Regions from separate parts of the Homo sapiens genome. Here regions 1, 2 and 3 are each linked to region 4. The links are contacts of gene promoters, found by promoter capture Hi-C in blood cells and fetal thymus (Javierre and others, 2016). All regions are on one chromosome and are shown on one strand. The core of a region is centred on a gene start or on the middle of the fragment in contact, and the rest is flanking DNA. Distances in the headings are between cores, read along the strand shown.

Evidence for each region. Contacts are between HindIII fragments. The CHiCAGO score rates a contact against its expected background, and 5 or more counts as called.
Region 1: a contact is called between a fragment that was not itself captured here and the fragment with the promoter of FAT4 in region 4, in 1 of 17 cell types (megakaryocytes). The highest score is 6.3, in megakaryocytes.
Region 2: a fragment that was not itself captured here is called in contact with the fragment with the promoter of FAT4 in region 4 in 2 of 17 cell types (M2 macrophages and M0 macrophages); the score reaches 8.6 in M2 macrophages.
Region 3: a contact is called between a fragment that was not itself captured here and the fragment with the promoter of FAT4 in region 4, in 5 of 17 cell types (M2 macrophages, M1 macrophages, M0 macrophages and 2 more). The highest score is 17.4, in M2 macrophages.

The regions. Positions count from the first base shown.
Region 1 is chr4:125,978,177-125,981,199 of GRCh38, reverse strand. No RefSeq gene overlaps it. Among named protein-coding and RNA genes, the nearest start is that of LINC02379, 84 kb to the left of the region's middle. The HindIII fragment of the contact is 3,481 bases long and covers 1-3,023 here.
Region 2 is chr4:124,315,062-124,317,847 of GRCh38, reverse strand. No RefSeq gene overlaps it. Among named protein-coding and RNA genes, the nearest start is that of LINC02516, 240 kb to the left of the region's middle. The HindIII fragment of the contact is 5,621 bases long and covers 1-2,786 here.
Region 3 is chr4:124,331,712-124,334,411 of GRCh38, reverse strand. No RefSeq gene overlaps it. Among named protein-coding and RNA genes, the nearest start is that of LINC02516, 230 kb to the left of the region's middle. The HindIII fragment of the contact is 3,584 bases long and covers 1-2,700 here.
Region 4 is chr4:125,313,687-125,316,478 of GRCh38, reverse strand. It overlaps FAT4 (FAT atypical cadherin 4), which reads right to left and starts at 1,524. Exons shown (of 18, transcript NM_001291303.3): 1 at 502-1,524; 2 at 1-79. The coding sequence starts at 67. The HindIII fragment of the contact is 5,556 bases long and covers 1-2,567 here.

The DNA.
Region 1 (3,023 bases), core at 204-2,703, 660 kb before region 4:
GTCAATCTGGGTCTGTTTCTGAATTCTTTATTTTTTCTATTGATCTATTTAGCTTATTATCATGCCAACACAGTGATATTTACCTTAGGTGTGTAGTTTATGGAAAGCCTTGAAGTGAGTTTTTTGTTGTTGTCGCTATTTGCCCAGTCTCACTCTTTGCCCAGGCTGGAGTACAGTGTCTCTATCTAGGCTCACAGCAACCTCTGCCTCCTGGGTTCAAGGGATTTTCCTGTCCCAGCCTCCCGAGTAGCTGTGATTACAGGTGTGTGCAGCCACGCCTGGCTAATTTCCATATTTTTAGTGGAGACAGTGTTTCACCATGTTGGCGAGGCTGGTCTCGAACTCCTGCACTCAAGTGATCCACCCGCCTCAGCCTCCCAAAGTGCTGAGATTAAAGGCATGAGCCACTGTGCCTGGCTGGAAGTGAGATATTTTAAGTCCTCCAAATTGTTTTAATTTTCAAGATTGTTTGACTATTGTAGATCTTGTACATTTCCATACATATGTTAGAATGAATTGCAGAAAAACTTGTGATTTTCCATAAAAATTCTACTAACAAAATTGAAAATTTTAACAAAATTGAGTTTTCTAACATGGGAATACATTTATTTATCCATTTATTAAAGTATTCATTACCTTTTTTTGGTAATCTCTTATAGTTTTCAGTGTACAGGAAGGTGTTTCAAATTATTTGCTAGATGAATTTTTGCCATTTATTTTTGGATGCTATTGGTAATTGGATTTTTAAATTCCATTTTTCAATATTTTTACTGTCATATTTAAGTGTAATTGAATGTTATATAAGATGACAAATCTTGCAAACTTGCTGATTTTTAAAATTATTATTAAAAATATTTAGAGCAGTTTCAGATAAACAGCAAAATTAAGAGGAAGGTACAGAGATTTCCCCTGTATTTCCTCCCCACACACATGCACATGCGTAGCCTTTCTCATTATCAGCATCTCCCAAGGGGATGGGGTGAAATGTGTCACCAGAGTCGTACATTTTTACCATTGGTTAACCTACACGACACATCATTATCACTGAAAGTCCGTGGTTCACATGAGCATTCACTCCTGGTGTTTGTTGGACGTTCTGTGGGTTTGGACAATGTATAATGACTTATCCATCATTATTGCATCATACAAAGTATTTTCACACCCCACAGACTCTTCGTACTTTGCCTATTCATCCTCCACCTTCCAACCCTTAGCCTGACAGTTTTAATGTCTCTATTGATTTTTTTTCCCAGAATTTCATATATTTGGGATCATACAGTGTATCGCCTATTTAGATTGGCTTCTTTCACTTAGTATTAGAAATGTAAGTTGCCTCTGTGGTTTCCATAACTTGATAGGTCATTTATTTTTAGCACTGAATAATATTCCATTATCTGAATGCTTCATAGTTTATCTGTTCACCTACTGAAGGACATCTTGTTGCTTTTAATTTGGGTAATTACAAATAAAACTGCTTTAAACATCTATGTTTAGGTTTGTTGTGTGGACATAAGTTTTCATTTTATTTCATTAAAAACCAAGGAGTGCATTTGATGGATCTTATGGTAACGGCATGTTTAATTTTGTAAAAAGCTGCCAATCTGTCTTCCAAAGTGGCTGTACCATTTTGCGTTCTCCTCAGTAGTGCATGAGATCCTGATGCTCCATATCATCACCAATGTTGCTGTGGTCCGTGTTCCAGATTTTGGCTGCTCGAGGCCTCACTTCAAGGCTTTCCATAAACTACACACCTAAGGTAAACATCACTATGTTGGCATGATAATAAGTTAAATAGATCAATAGAAAAAATAAATAATATAGTGCAGTGGTATCTCCTTGTTATTTTAATTTGCATTTCCCTGATTTCACATAATGTAGCGCATCTTCAATGTTGAAAACTTGAATCATTAATTCTATAGCTGTAGATATTTTAGAATTTTCTATGTAAAAAACCATGTGTCTGTAAATAGTCATTTTACATATTTCTTCCTAACTTTTACGTTTTTAATTTTAATTTTATTTTCTCTAGTTTTTATTTATTTTTCATATTTCTTGATTTATTTTATTTTATTTTTTTTGGGCTAGGACTTCCAAACAATGTTAAATAGAAATGGGAAGAGCAGGTGATCATGATTTTCCCCCAAATTAAAGAGAAAACTATTAATATTATACCAATATGATTGATGTTCCCCATAGATTTTCACACCCATCTTTCTGATTGTGGACAGTGTATGCCATATTCATAGTTACTGAGTGTTTTATTATGGAACGGGTGTTGAATTACATCTATTGAAGTGATTATATGTGAATTTTCTCTTTATTTTGTTAATACGGTGAAACACCATTGATACATTTTTAAATGTTGACAGTCTTGTATTAGTGGGATAAGCCTCATTTTGGCAAGATAATTATGTTCCATTTTACATATTGCTGCATTTGATTCACTAACATTTTGTAAATGATTTCTGTGAATATGTTCATTAGGGCTATTGCTGTAATTGTTTTCTTTAATTTCTGTATCAGATTTAATATTAGAATTTTACTCACTTTATAAGTACATGCTACAATGTGTTATTATTTACATGCTTAATAAAATTCACAAGTAGATCATATAGGCCTAAAGTTTCTTTGTGGAAAAATATCTTCTCATATTTTTGTTATTTTTCATGGTTGTTACATGAGTTGCCTCTTTTTTCTGGTTTCTTAAGTTGAAATCTTCAATCTTCAATAATTTATTTTAAACATTTTGTTTGTTTGTTTTTGTGACAGTGTCTTGCTCTGTTGCCTTAGCTGGAGTTAAGTGATATAAACATGGGTCACTGCAGCCTCCATCTCCTAGGCTCAGAAGAGCTTCCTGCCTCAGCCTCTCATGTAGCTGGGACCACAGGTGCACACCACCATACCTGGCTATGTTTTTAAAATTTTTGTAGATATGGGATCTCACTTTGTGGCCCAGGTTGGTCTCGAACTCCTGACCTCAAGTAATCCTCCTACCTTGGCCTCCCAAAGTGCTGGGATTACAG
Region 2 (2,786 bases), core at 211-2,710, 1.0 Mb after region 4:
CCAGCTGAGTAGCTGGGATTACAGGTGTGTGCCACAATGCCTGGCTAATTTTTGTATTTTTAGTAGAGATGGGATTTAGCCATGTTGGCCAGGCTGGTCTCAAACTCCTGAATTCAAGTGGTCTGCCCACCTTGGCCTCCCAAAGTGCTGGAATTACAGGCATAAGCCACCACACTTGGCCTAAAAGGTGACTTTTTTATGTTAATTTTGTATCCTGCAATTTTATTGAATTCACTTATTACTTCTAACATTCTTGGTGTATTATTTAAGGTTTTCTTTACATAACATCATGTCGTCTGCAAACAGAGATCAATTTACTTCTTCTATTCCAATTTGGAAGAGTTTTATGTCTTTTTCCTGACTATTTGCTCTAGCTAGGACTTGCAATACTGTGTTGAAAAAAAGTGGTAAGAGTGGGCATTCTGGGGCTGGGCATTGTGATTCATACCTTTAATCCCAGCATTCAGGGAGGCAAAGGCAGGAGGATAGCTTGAATCCAAATGCTTAAGATCAGGCTGGGCAACATAGTGAAAGCCCATTCTCCACAAAAAGAAGATTAAAAAAAGAGTGGGCATCCTGGTGGTGTTCCTGATCTTAGAGGAAAGATTTTTTTCTTTTCACCATTGACTGTAATGTTACCTGTGGGCTTGTTATATATGGCATTTATTATGTTGAGGTACACACCATCTATACCTAATTTGTTGAAAGTTTTTATCATGAAACAGTGTTGAATTTTTTCAAATGTTTTTTCTGTGTCTCCTGAAATGATCAAATAATTTTTTTTGGTTGTTTTGAGATGGAGTTTCATTCTGTCTCCCAGGCTGCAGTGCAGTGGCACGATCTCAGCTTACTACAACCTCTGCTCCCGGGTTCAAGTGATTCTCGTGCCTCAGCCTCCCAAGTAGCTGGGATTACAAGCCCGCACCACCTCACCCAGCTAATGTTGTATTTTTAGTAGAGATGGAGTTTGACCATGTTGGCCACGCTGTTCTCGAACTCTTAACTTCAAGTGATCAGCCCACCTCAGCCTCCCAAAGTGCTGGAATTACAGGTATAAGCCAGCATGCCTGATCCTGATCAAATGATTTTTATATTTCATTCTATTAATATGGTGTATTGAATTTAGTGGGTTTTGTATGTTGAGCCATTCACACATTCCAGGGATAAATCCCACTTGATCATCATGTATGATCCTTTTAACATGCTGTTTGATTCCATTTGTTAATACATTAGTAATGATTTTGCACCTATGAGATATTCATCAGAGATATTGGCTGTAATTTTCTTTTTTTAATAGTGTCCTTCTCTGGCTTTGGGGTCAGGAAAATATTGGCCTCATAAAATGAATTTGGAAATATTCCTTCCTCTACAATTTTTTTAGAAGGATTTAAGAAGCATTAGCATTAACTCTTCTTTAATGTTTGGTAGGATTCAGTAATGATGCCATCTGGTCCTGGGCTTTTATTTGTTGCGAGATTTTTGATTACTGATTCAAACTCCATAGTCTTTTAGTCTTTTCAAACTAGTCTTTGCAAATTTTCTGTTTCTTTAGTCTTTTAGTCCTTTCAGATTTTCTATTTCTCTATGATTTAACCTTGGCCTTTCTATGTTTCTAGGCATTTATTTACTTATTGTAGGTTATCCCTTTTGTTGGCTTATAATTGTTCACAGTTGTCTTTTATGATCCTTTGCATTATGTGGTATCAGTTGTAATATTTCCTCTTTCATTTATAATTTTATTTATTTGAGTCTTCTTTTTTGCTTGGTTAGTCTAAGTAAATGTTTGTAAATTTTATTTTTCTTTTTAAAAACTGAACTTTTAGTTTTCTTGATCTTTTCTATTTTTTTCATGTCTATTTCATTTACTTTTCCTCTAATCTTTATTCTTTCTTTCTTTCTGCTCACTTTGGGGCTTCATTTGTTCTTCTTTCTTTAGATTCTTAAGGTATACGCTTAGGTTGTTTACTTGAAGCCTTTCTTTTTCCTAAAATAGGCATTTATTGCTATAAACTTTCCTTTTAAAACTGCTTTTGCTGCATCTCAGTAATTTTGGTATGTTGTTTTCTAGTTTCCTTTGTCTCAACGTATTTTTAAATTTTTTAAAATTTTTTCTTTGACCCACTAATTGTTCATTAGTGAGTTGTTTGATTTCCACATATGTGTAAATTTTCTGAATTTTCTCTTTTTATTGATTCCTAGTTTTATACTATTGTGGTCAGAAAAGATAAATGATACGATTTCAATCTCCTTGTATATGTTAAGAATTGTTTTGTGGTCCAACATATTATCTGTCCTGGAAGGTATGCCAAGTCTGCTGTGGAAGAATGTCTATTATTCTACTGTTAGATAGAATTTTCGGTATATGTCTTTTAGGTCCATTAAGTGTATAGTATTAATCAAATTTGCTGTTTTCTTATTGATTTTCTGTCTGGCTTACCTATTCATTGTTGAAAGTGGAGTGTTGAAGTCCCCCGCTGTTATTGTATTTTTTTCTCCCTTCAGTTCTGTTAATATTTAAAAAAAAAAAAAAAACATTTAGGTGCTAAAATGTTAGATGCATCTATATTTATAATTGTTATATCCTTTGGTAATTTGACCCCATTATCTTTATATGAGGACCTTCTTTGTCTTTTTTTACAGTTTTTTGCTTAAAGTCTATTTTGCCTGATATTAGTATAGCCAATCCTGGTCTGTTTTGGTTATCATTTGCGTAAAACATCTTTTTGTATTCCTTTACTTTCAGCATATGTGCATTCTTCAAGTTAAAATGAGTTTTTTAATAAGCA
Region 3 (2,700 bases), core at 43-2,542, 980 kb after region 4:
AAAATGATTACCCCATTCTCGAATTTCCCCATTTCCTAATCGTAACCAAAGGATCGTCCTATATATCAAGCTAATGTCTCTCCCTAACAGTTAACAACACTGTGACTCAACAGCTAGAAAATACTTACCCCAGGACTACTTGAGGAGACTATCAAAAATCTTAGAAACCATGGGCTCCACCTAGTGGCATTTTCCCAGTTGATATTATGGTTTTAAATCTAGCATTTAGCTTTCTGCACAAACCATTGTTTTTATTTAAATTCATTTAATAAAATTATAAAATAACACTATTCTACTTAAGTATTATTATTCAGTAGATTTGTGGTTTTAGTCATTTTTCTTTTTATGCAACCTTACTACTATAGTGCTTAGTATCATGCTTTTGATTTGTTTGATTATTCTAAATGGAAATAAATGGGGATTATGTTTTAATAATAAGGAAGTAGAGAGATGTATTAATATATGATAGCATTTTCTAAAAAGGGAATCCATTAGCAAGTCTATATAATTTCTAGTATTATGTCTGAAGTAACTTATAAAGGAAACGAATCTAATGATTGTATCATATAAATTATACAAAGCAGTGATCTCATGATCGTAGTTTTAAGTTCTCTGCAGCTTTTTATTTGGAAACTATTCCTCTTTGAGACATTAAATTTCTTTACCAGAATACCATATTTTTACTTGAAGAGTTGTAATTACGCAAGACTAACATTTAAGCTGAAAAGTCATTCGTTAAATGCCAATTAAGATTTCTGAAGTCATACATTTTGCTTACCAGACAAATCAGAAGATACTCAGAGATTTAGATTGAGCAGCCTATCGAAAAAGCACATTCCATTTCCACTAGCTCAGACCATTAGGAAAATGTGGGTTACCTGACAAGTCAGGAAGGGCTTTTAAATACTCTACAAAACTTCTGAGAAGCATATCTTGAGCCAGGAACCGTGCACTCATCCTCAGTTCCTTTCATCTGTACTTTAAATTGCTTTACTTCCCTCCCTGATATTCCCTCAGGTCATTTGCCAACCCACATACATGTACCTGGGAGTGTTCATGGACACACACACACAGTTTTCCTAGTGCCTCTGATTATAGCTGAAATACATTCAGCCTTTTACCTCATACTAAGCAGAGGGATTGATGGAAGAAAATTCCAGGGCAACCAAGGGTGGAGGCTAGGGATTGGTAAAGACAACGTTCCTGATGGATGCATTTTTTTTTTTTTTTGAGATGGAGTCTTGCTCTGTTGCCCAGGCTGGAGTGCAGTGGTGCTATCTCGGCTCACTGCAACCTCTGCCTCCCGGGTTTCAAGTGATTCTCCTGCCTCAGCCTCCCAAGTAGCTGGGAATACAGGCGCACGCCACCATGCACAGCTAATTGTTGTATTTTTAGTAGAGATGGGGTTTCACCATGTTGGCCAGGATAGTCTCCATCTCTTGATCTCGGCCTTGATCCGCCCACCTTGGCCTCCCAAAGTGCTGGGATTACAGGTGTCAGCCACCCCGCCCGGCCCAATGGGTGCATTCTTTACCGCTTTTCAAAACTGGATTGAGCCTCACAGTCTGCTAAGGTTTTCTGGGGCTAGCAGCCATCCAGCCCTTGCTGCATGGCTCTGGGTGAGTAGAGGATGCAGGCAAATCTACCCTCCCAGGGCCCTGGTGATTGCTGCTGCTCTGAGTTATGTAACTCCTGCTCACAGGCCCAACCAAGCAGAGTGATGATGCTACAATCACATCAGAGATTGTAAATGATGGGGTGATGATGAACAGGGGTTGCATTTTTTTTTTCTGTGTGCCCTGTATAGTTGTAGTCGCTGGCATGTCAGGTGATCAGTAAAGACTGAAATAGAAAAAGAAAAGAAAAGGAACAATTCTTGTCCCCTAGTCCCTGCTCTACTACTGAGTTACTATGTAACATTGTGCCATTTGCGGTTTGAATTAAAACATAAAATTAACGTGTGTAAGTATTTTCCCCCAAAACTAGGATGTGCATGTAAAAAACAATACCCATAAATGTTAATCATTAATAGCTTAGAAGGTGCTTTTCTGAGAGTTGATTCAGGAGCATGCTGACTGCCTTTATGGATTTGAGGGCCTCCCCCACACTTTTTAGGAAGACCTCCAAGGTTTCACCCTGTGGCCAACCATGAAACTTTTGAATACATTCAAGACCTAGAAAGAGGAGGACAGTGCACGCTTTCTTCCCTTCCTCACTTGTTTGTTCAGGCTGATAACTAGGAAATCAAATGTAAACAATTCATGTATGAACTAAAACCAGTGCTCACAGTATTGAACATTTATTTGAGGAAGATGTTAAGAGTCATATATAAAATCTAATCATATGCATATGTTTTGTGGGACACACAGGAGCCATGTGGTTCTTATGGTTAGTAGGGATTTCACATGAGAGTCTAGAAGCTGAAGGCTTTGAATATGGTTGCCATAGAGACAAACAGGCAGTTTATAGAATCCCAAACCAGGAGGATTAATTTTAATAACTTCCATCAAGAAGCAATATAGCTTTATAGTTGATAGCACAGGCTCTGGTGCCAGGCTGCTGTGGTCCAAATCCTTACCGTCTAACAGATTATGTGTGTATACTCAGGACAGTTAATTAATTTTCCTTTACCTTAACGCTATTATCTATAATCTATAAAGCAAGTATAGCGTTAATCCAAACATGCATGGATTATTATGT
Region 4 (2,792 bases), core at 275-2,774:
GAGATACTGATAGAGTGTGCAACGGGAGCCACGGGCGGCCAGTAGCCCTGTCTGGTGCTAAGTCCATGGTCCTGGCTCCCTAAAACGATGTGATAAAGAGAAGGAAGGGGTGAAGCAAACGCAATGATATTTACAGGGATTAAGGAGCGCCAGCAAAGATTCAGCTGACGGCTTGGTCTGAGACCTCTGCTATTTCAAAGAACCTCCAGTCCGGCAAAAGCAAGTAGCATCAGCAAAAGACTCTAGGTAGCCAGTTGAACGCGGAGTGCAAGAGAGATGCTGTGGCGAAAAGCGGCAGGGCATTCCGCGGGACACTCCTGTGAGCTGAGTTCCCAGAAAAGTTTCTCAAGCCTCTTATATATGCCCCCTTTTACTTTGTTTTTGAATCCAGATAGTCTGAGCGTTTTCACCCGGGTGGATGAGAGTTGGGAGAAGTTGCCTGTATCTAAGGTATATGAGGAATCATTGCAAAGAACGGTCTTCAGAAACTTTAGAACTTACCCGCAGCGAAGAACGTGAAGAGGGAGGAACAAACGTCCAAGCACAACTGCGCACCGGGGAAGGGGTGGTGGGGAACCGGGAGAATCGAATTTCTTTCCCAAAAGCTGGAGGCGATGGAATTCCTGGAGTCCCCACTCCTCAAAAACCAGGCTGCAACGCCCCTCCAACAGGGCGCCGGCAGTGGCCGCTGAGGCCCAGGCGGCGGCGTCTGCGCGCAGGCAGTTCGGGAACTGCGTTCCAAGCGCTAGCGTTCGCGCTCTGGCTCCCGTACCCGGGAGCGCTCAACTCTGCCCCTTCCCCTCCTGCAGCCGCCGCCGCCGCCGCCCCTGTTGCGGCTTCAAGCCCGTGGTCCGGCACAAACAACAGCCAGGGCTCCTCGGCATTTTTCACCTCTGCCGGGGCGCCTGCCGACCCATTATTTGTACATCCAAATCGAACGCAGTTTCCCCTTTCTTCTCGGCCTCGCAGGGGTCGGGCAGAAACAGCGTGCGGTCCCCGAGTCGCCCTCCCCTCACCATGCCAGGGGGGGTCGTTCTCCGGCGGCCCCAGTCAGAAGCCCACTCTAGCGCGCCTCGCCCCTGCCCTCGCTATCTCTGCTTTTATTGTCCCGTGTCAGTTTCACTTTGTAATCCACAAGGCTTTTTGTTTGGGGCGGGGGGTGGTTGATGCCTCTCTCTCCTTCACAGTTGGCAGCGGAGGCGGCGAAGTCGGCGCTGGGCTGTAGTGACGCCCTCCGCAGCTCCGGACGGCGCCTGTCAGCGCTCTCCCTCTCGCCGGCCGGGGCCGAAGGTTGGACTGCGGTGGAGCTAGGGCTCCGCGAGCCCTTCTCCACCTCCCGCCTGGTCCCTCACACTCTCCCCGCCCCTTCCCCGCCGCACAGGCATGCACACACACACACATACACACGCACACACACACACACAGCGCGTCGCCGAAACACAAACAGAGGGGGAGGGAAGACCGCGAGCTGGAGCAGCACTCAGAAACTTTGCTCGACACTCATTGATCCCCGCACTTTAGTTCGCCTGGACTCCCCCTAGCTCCCAGTCCTGTCACCTTCTGCCCCTCCCTCGCCCCAGCCCCATTGGGCCGGAGCTGAAGCAGCCCCGACCGGCACTCCTACCGCGAGCGCCCTCCGCCTTGCCCGGCCTCCGACTGGCTTCTCGGGATGCTAATCACTTCAGCCTCCCGGAGGGCTGTAGGCGGTCTGGTGTGGGAGCACAGCGAGGCGGAGGCGCTAAAAAGGGGGGTGATTTTTTTTCTTTTCTTTTTTTTTTTTTTTTTTCCTTTTCGGCCAAATCTTGGCCGGCGTCAGAGCAATAACAGCAAAAGGCTGCCGCAGAATAGATGGGGGTGGGGTCAGGTTTGCAGATAAATAACTTTAGTGGCAGGGTCTGGGGGAAGACCGTTAGGTTGTTATGCTAGTAATAACTCAGGGGTAAGGGGGTCGAGAGAAATAAAAGAAAGGCGGGGGGTGAGGGTCTGTTAAAGCGGGGAGGAAGGATTAAGCAAAGCCTGTCTGGGAATGCACAGTGCAGATTTGCTTTAACCATTTCCTGCCCCTTCTCTCTTTATGCAAGGGATAGAGCTGCCATACAGTGTGATCCCACAGAATCCAAATCAAATCCTCCCCTTTGCTCCTCTTTCTACACAGTGGGCTCCCTGCTGTCTAGGGCGAGCTAAACTCTAAATCTTCACTCACTTGCCCCTCTCCCCCACCTTCCAGGTGACTAGGGGGCAGGAGGCCTCCGTAGCAAGGGCACTTTGGACTTCCTACTATAGGAAAGGCCAGGGGAACTCAGTGTTTGTTTTGTTTTCTTTCCCAACTGGATTCCAGGTGCCAGTAGCCCAAACCTTAGGGTTTCAACAACAATAATAATGGCAGCCCTTTGAAAAGAGGGAGATCTTTTCCTGTTGCAAAGTTAGTTTGGAATTTTGATCCCTGATGGAGTATTTCCACCTCCACATTTTTTAGTCAAAGGAAACCTAATAAAGTTTTATTTTGCTTTTCAGTCTGGGAGAAATAGATACGAGAAAGTAGAAATAAATAAAATAATATTTAAGCTTAAGTTTTTAAAAATACCCACATGCCACTTAATGCACTCAGATCAACTCACCCACTATTCACTGCAGTTAATTTTTGTGGTGGCATGCATCGTTTCTTTAAAAGAAGAAAAACGTTACTAGGAATCAGATCGATATTTTTCCCCTTTAAGGGAACCAACCTAGAAAATAAGAATTCAAGCCAAACAATGCAAATACAGGGCATATGTCATACATTTCTGCCACAA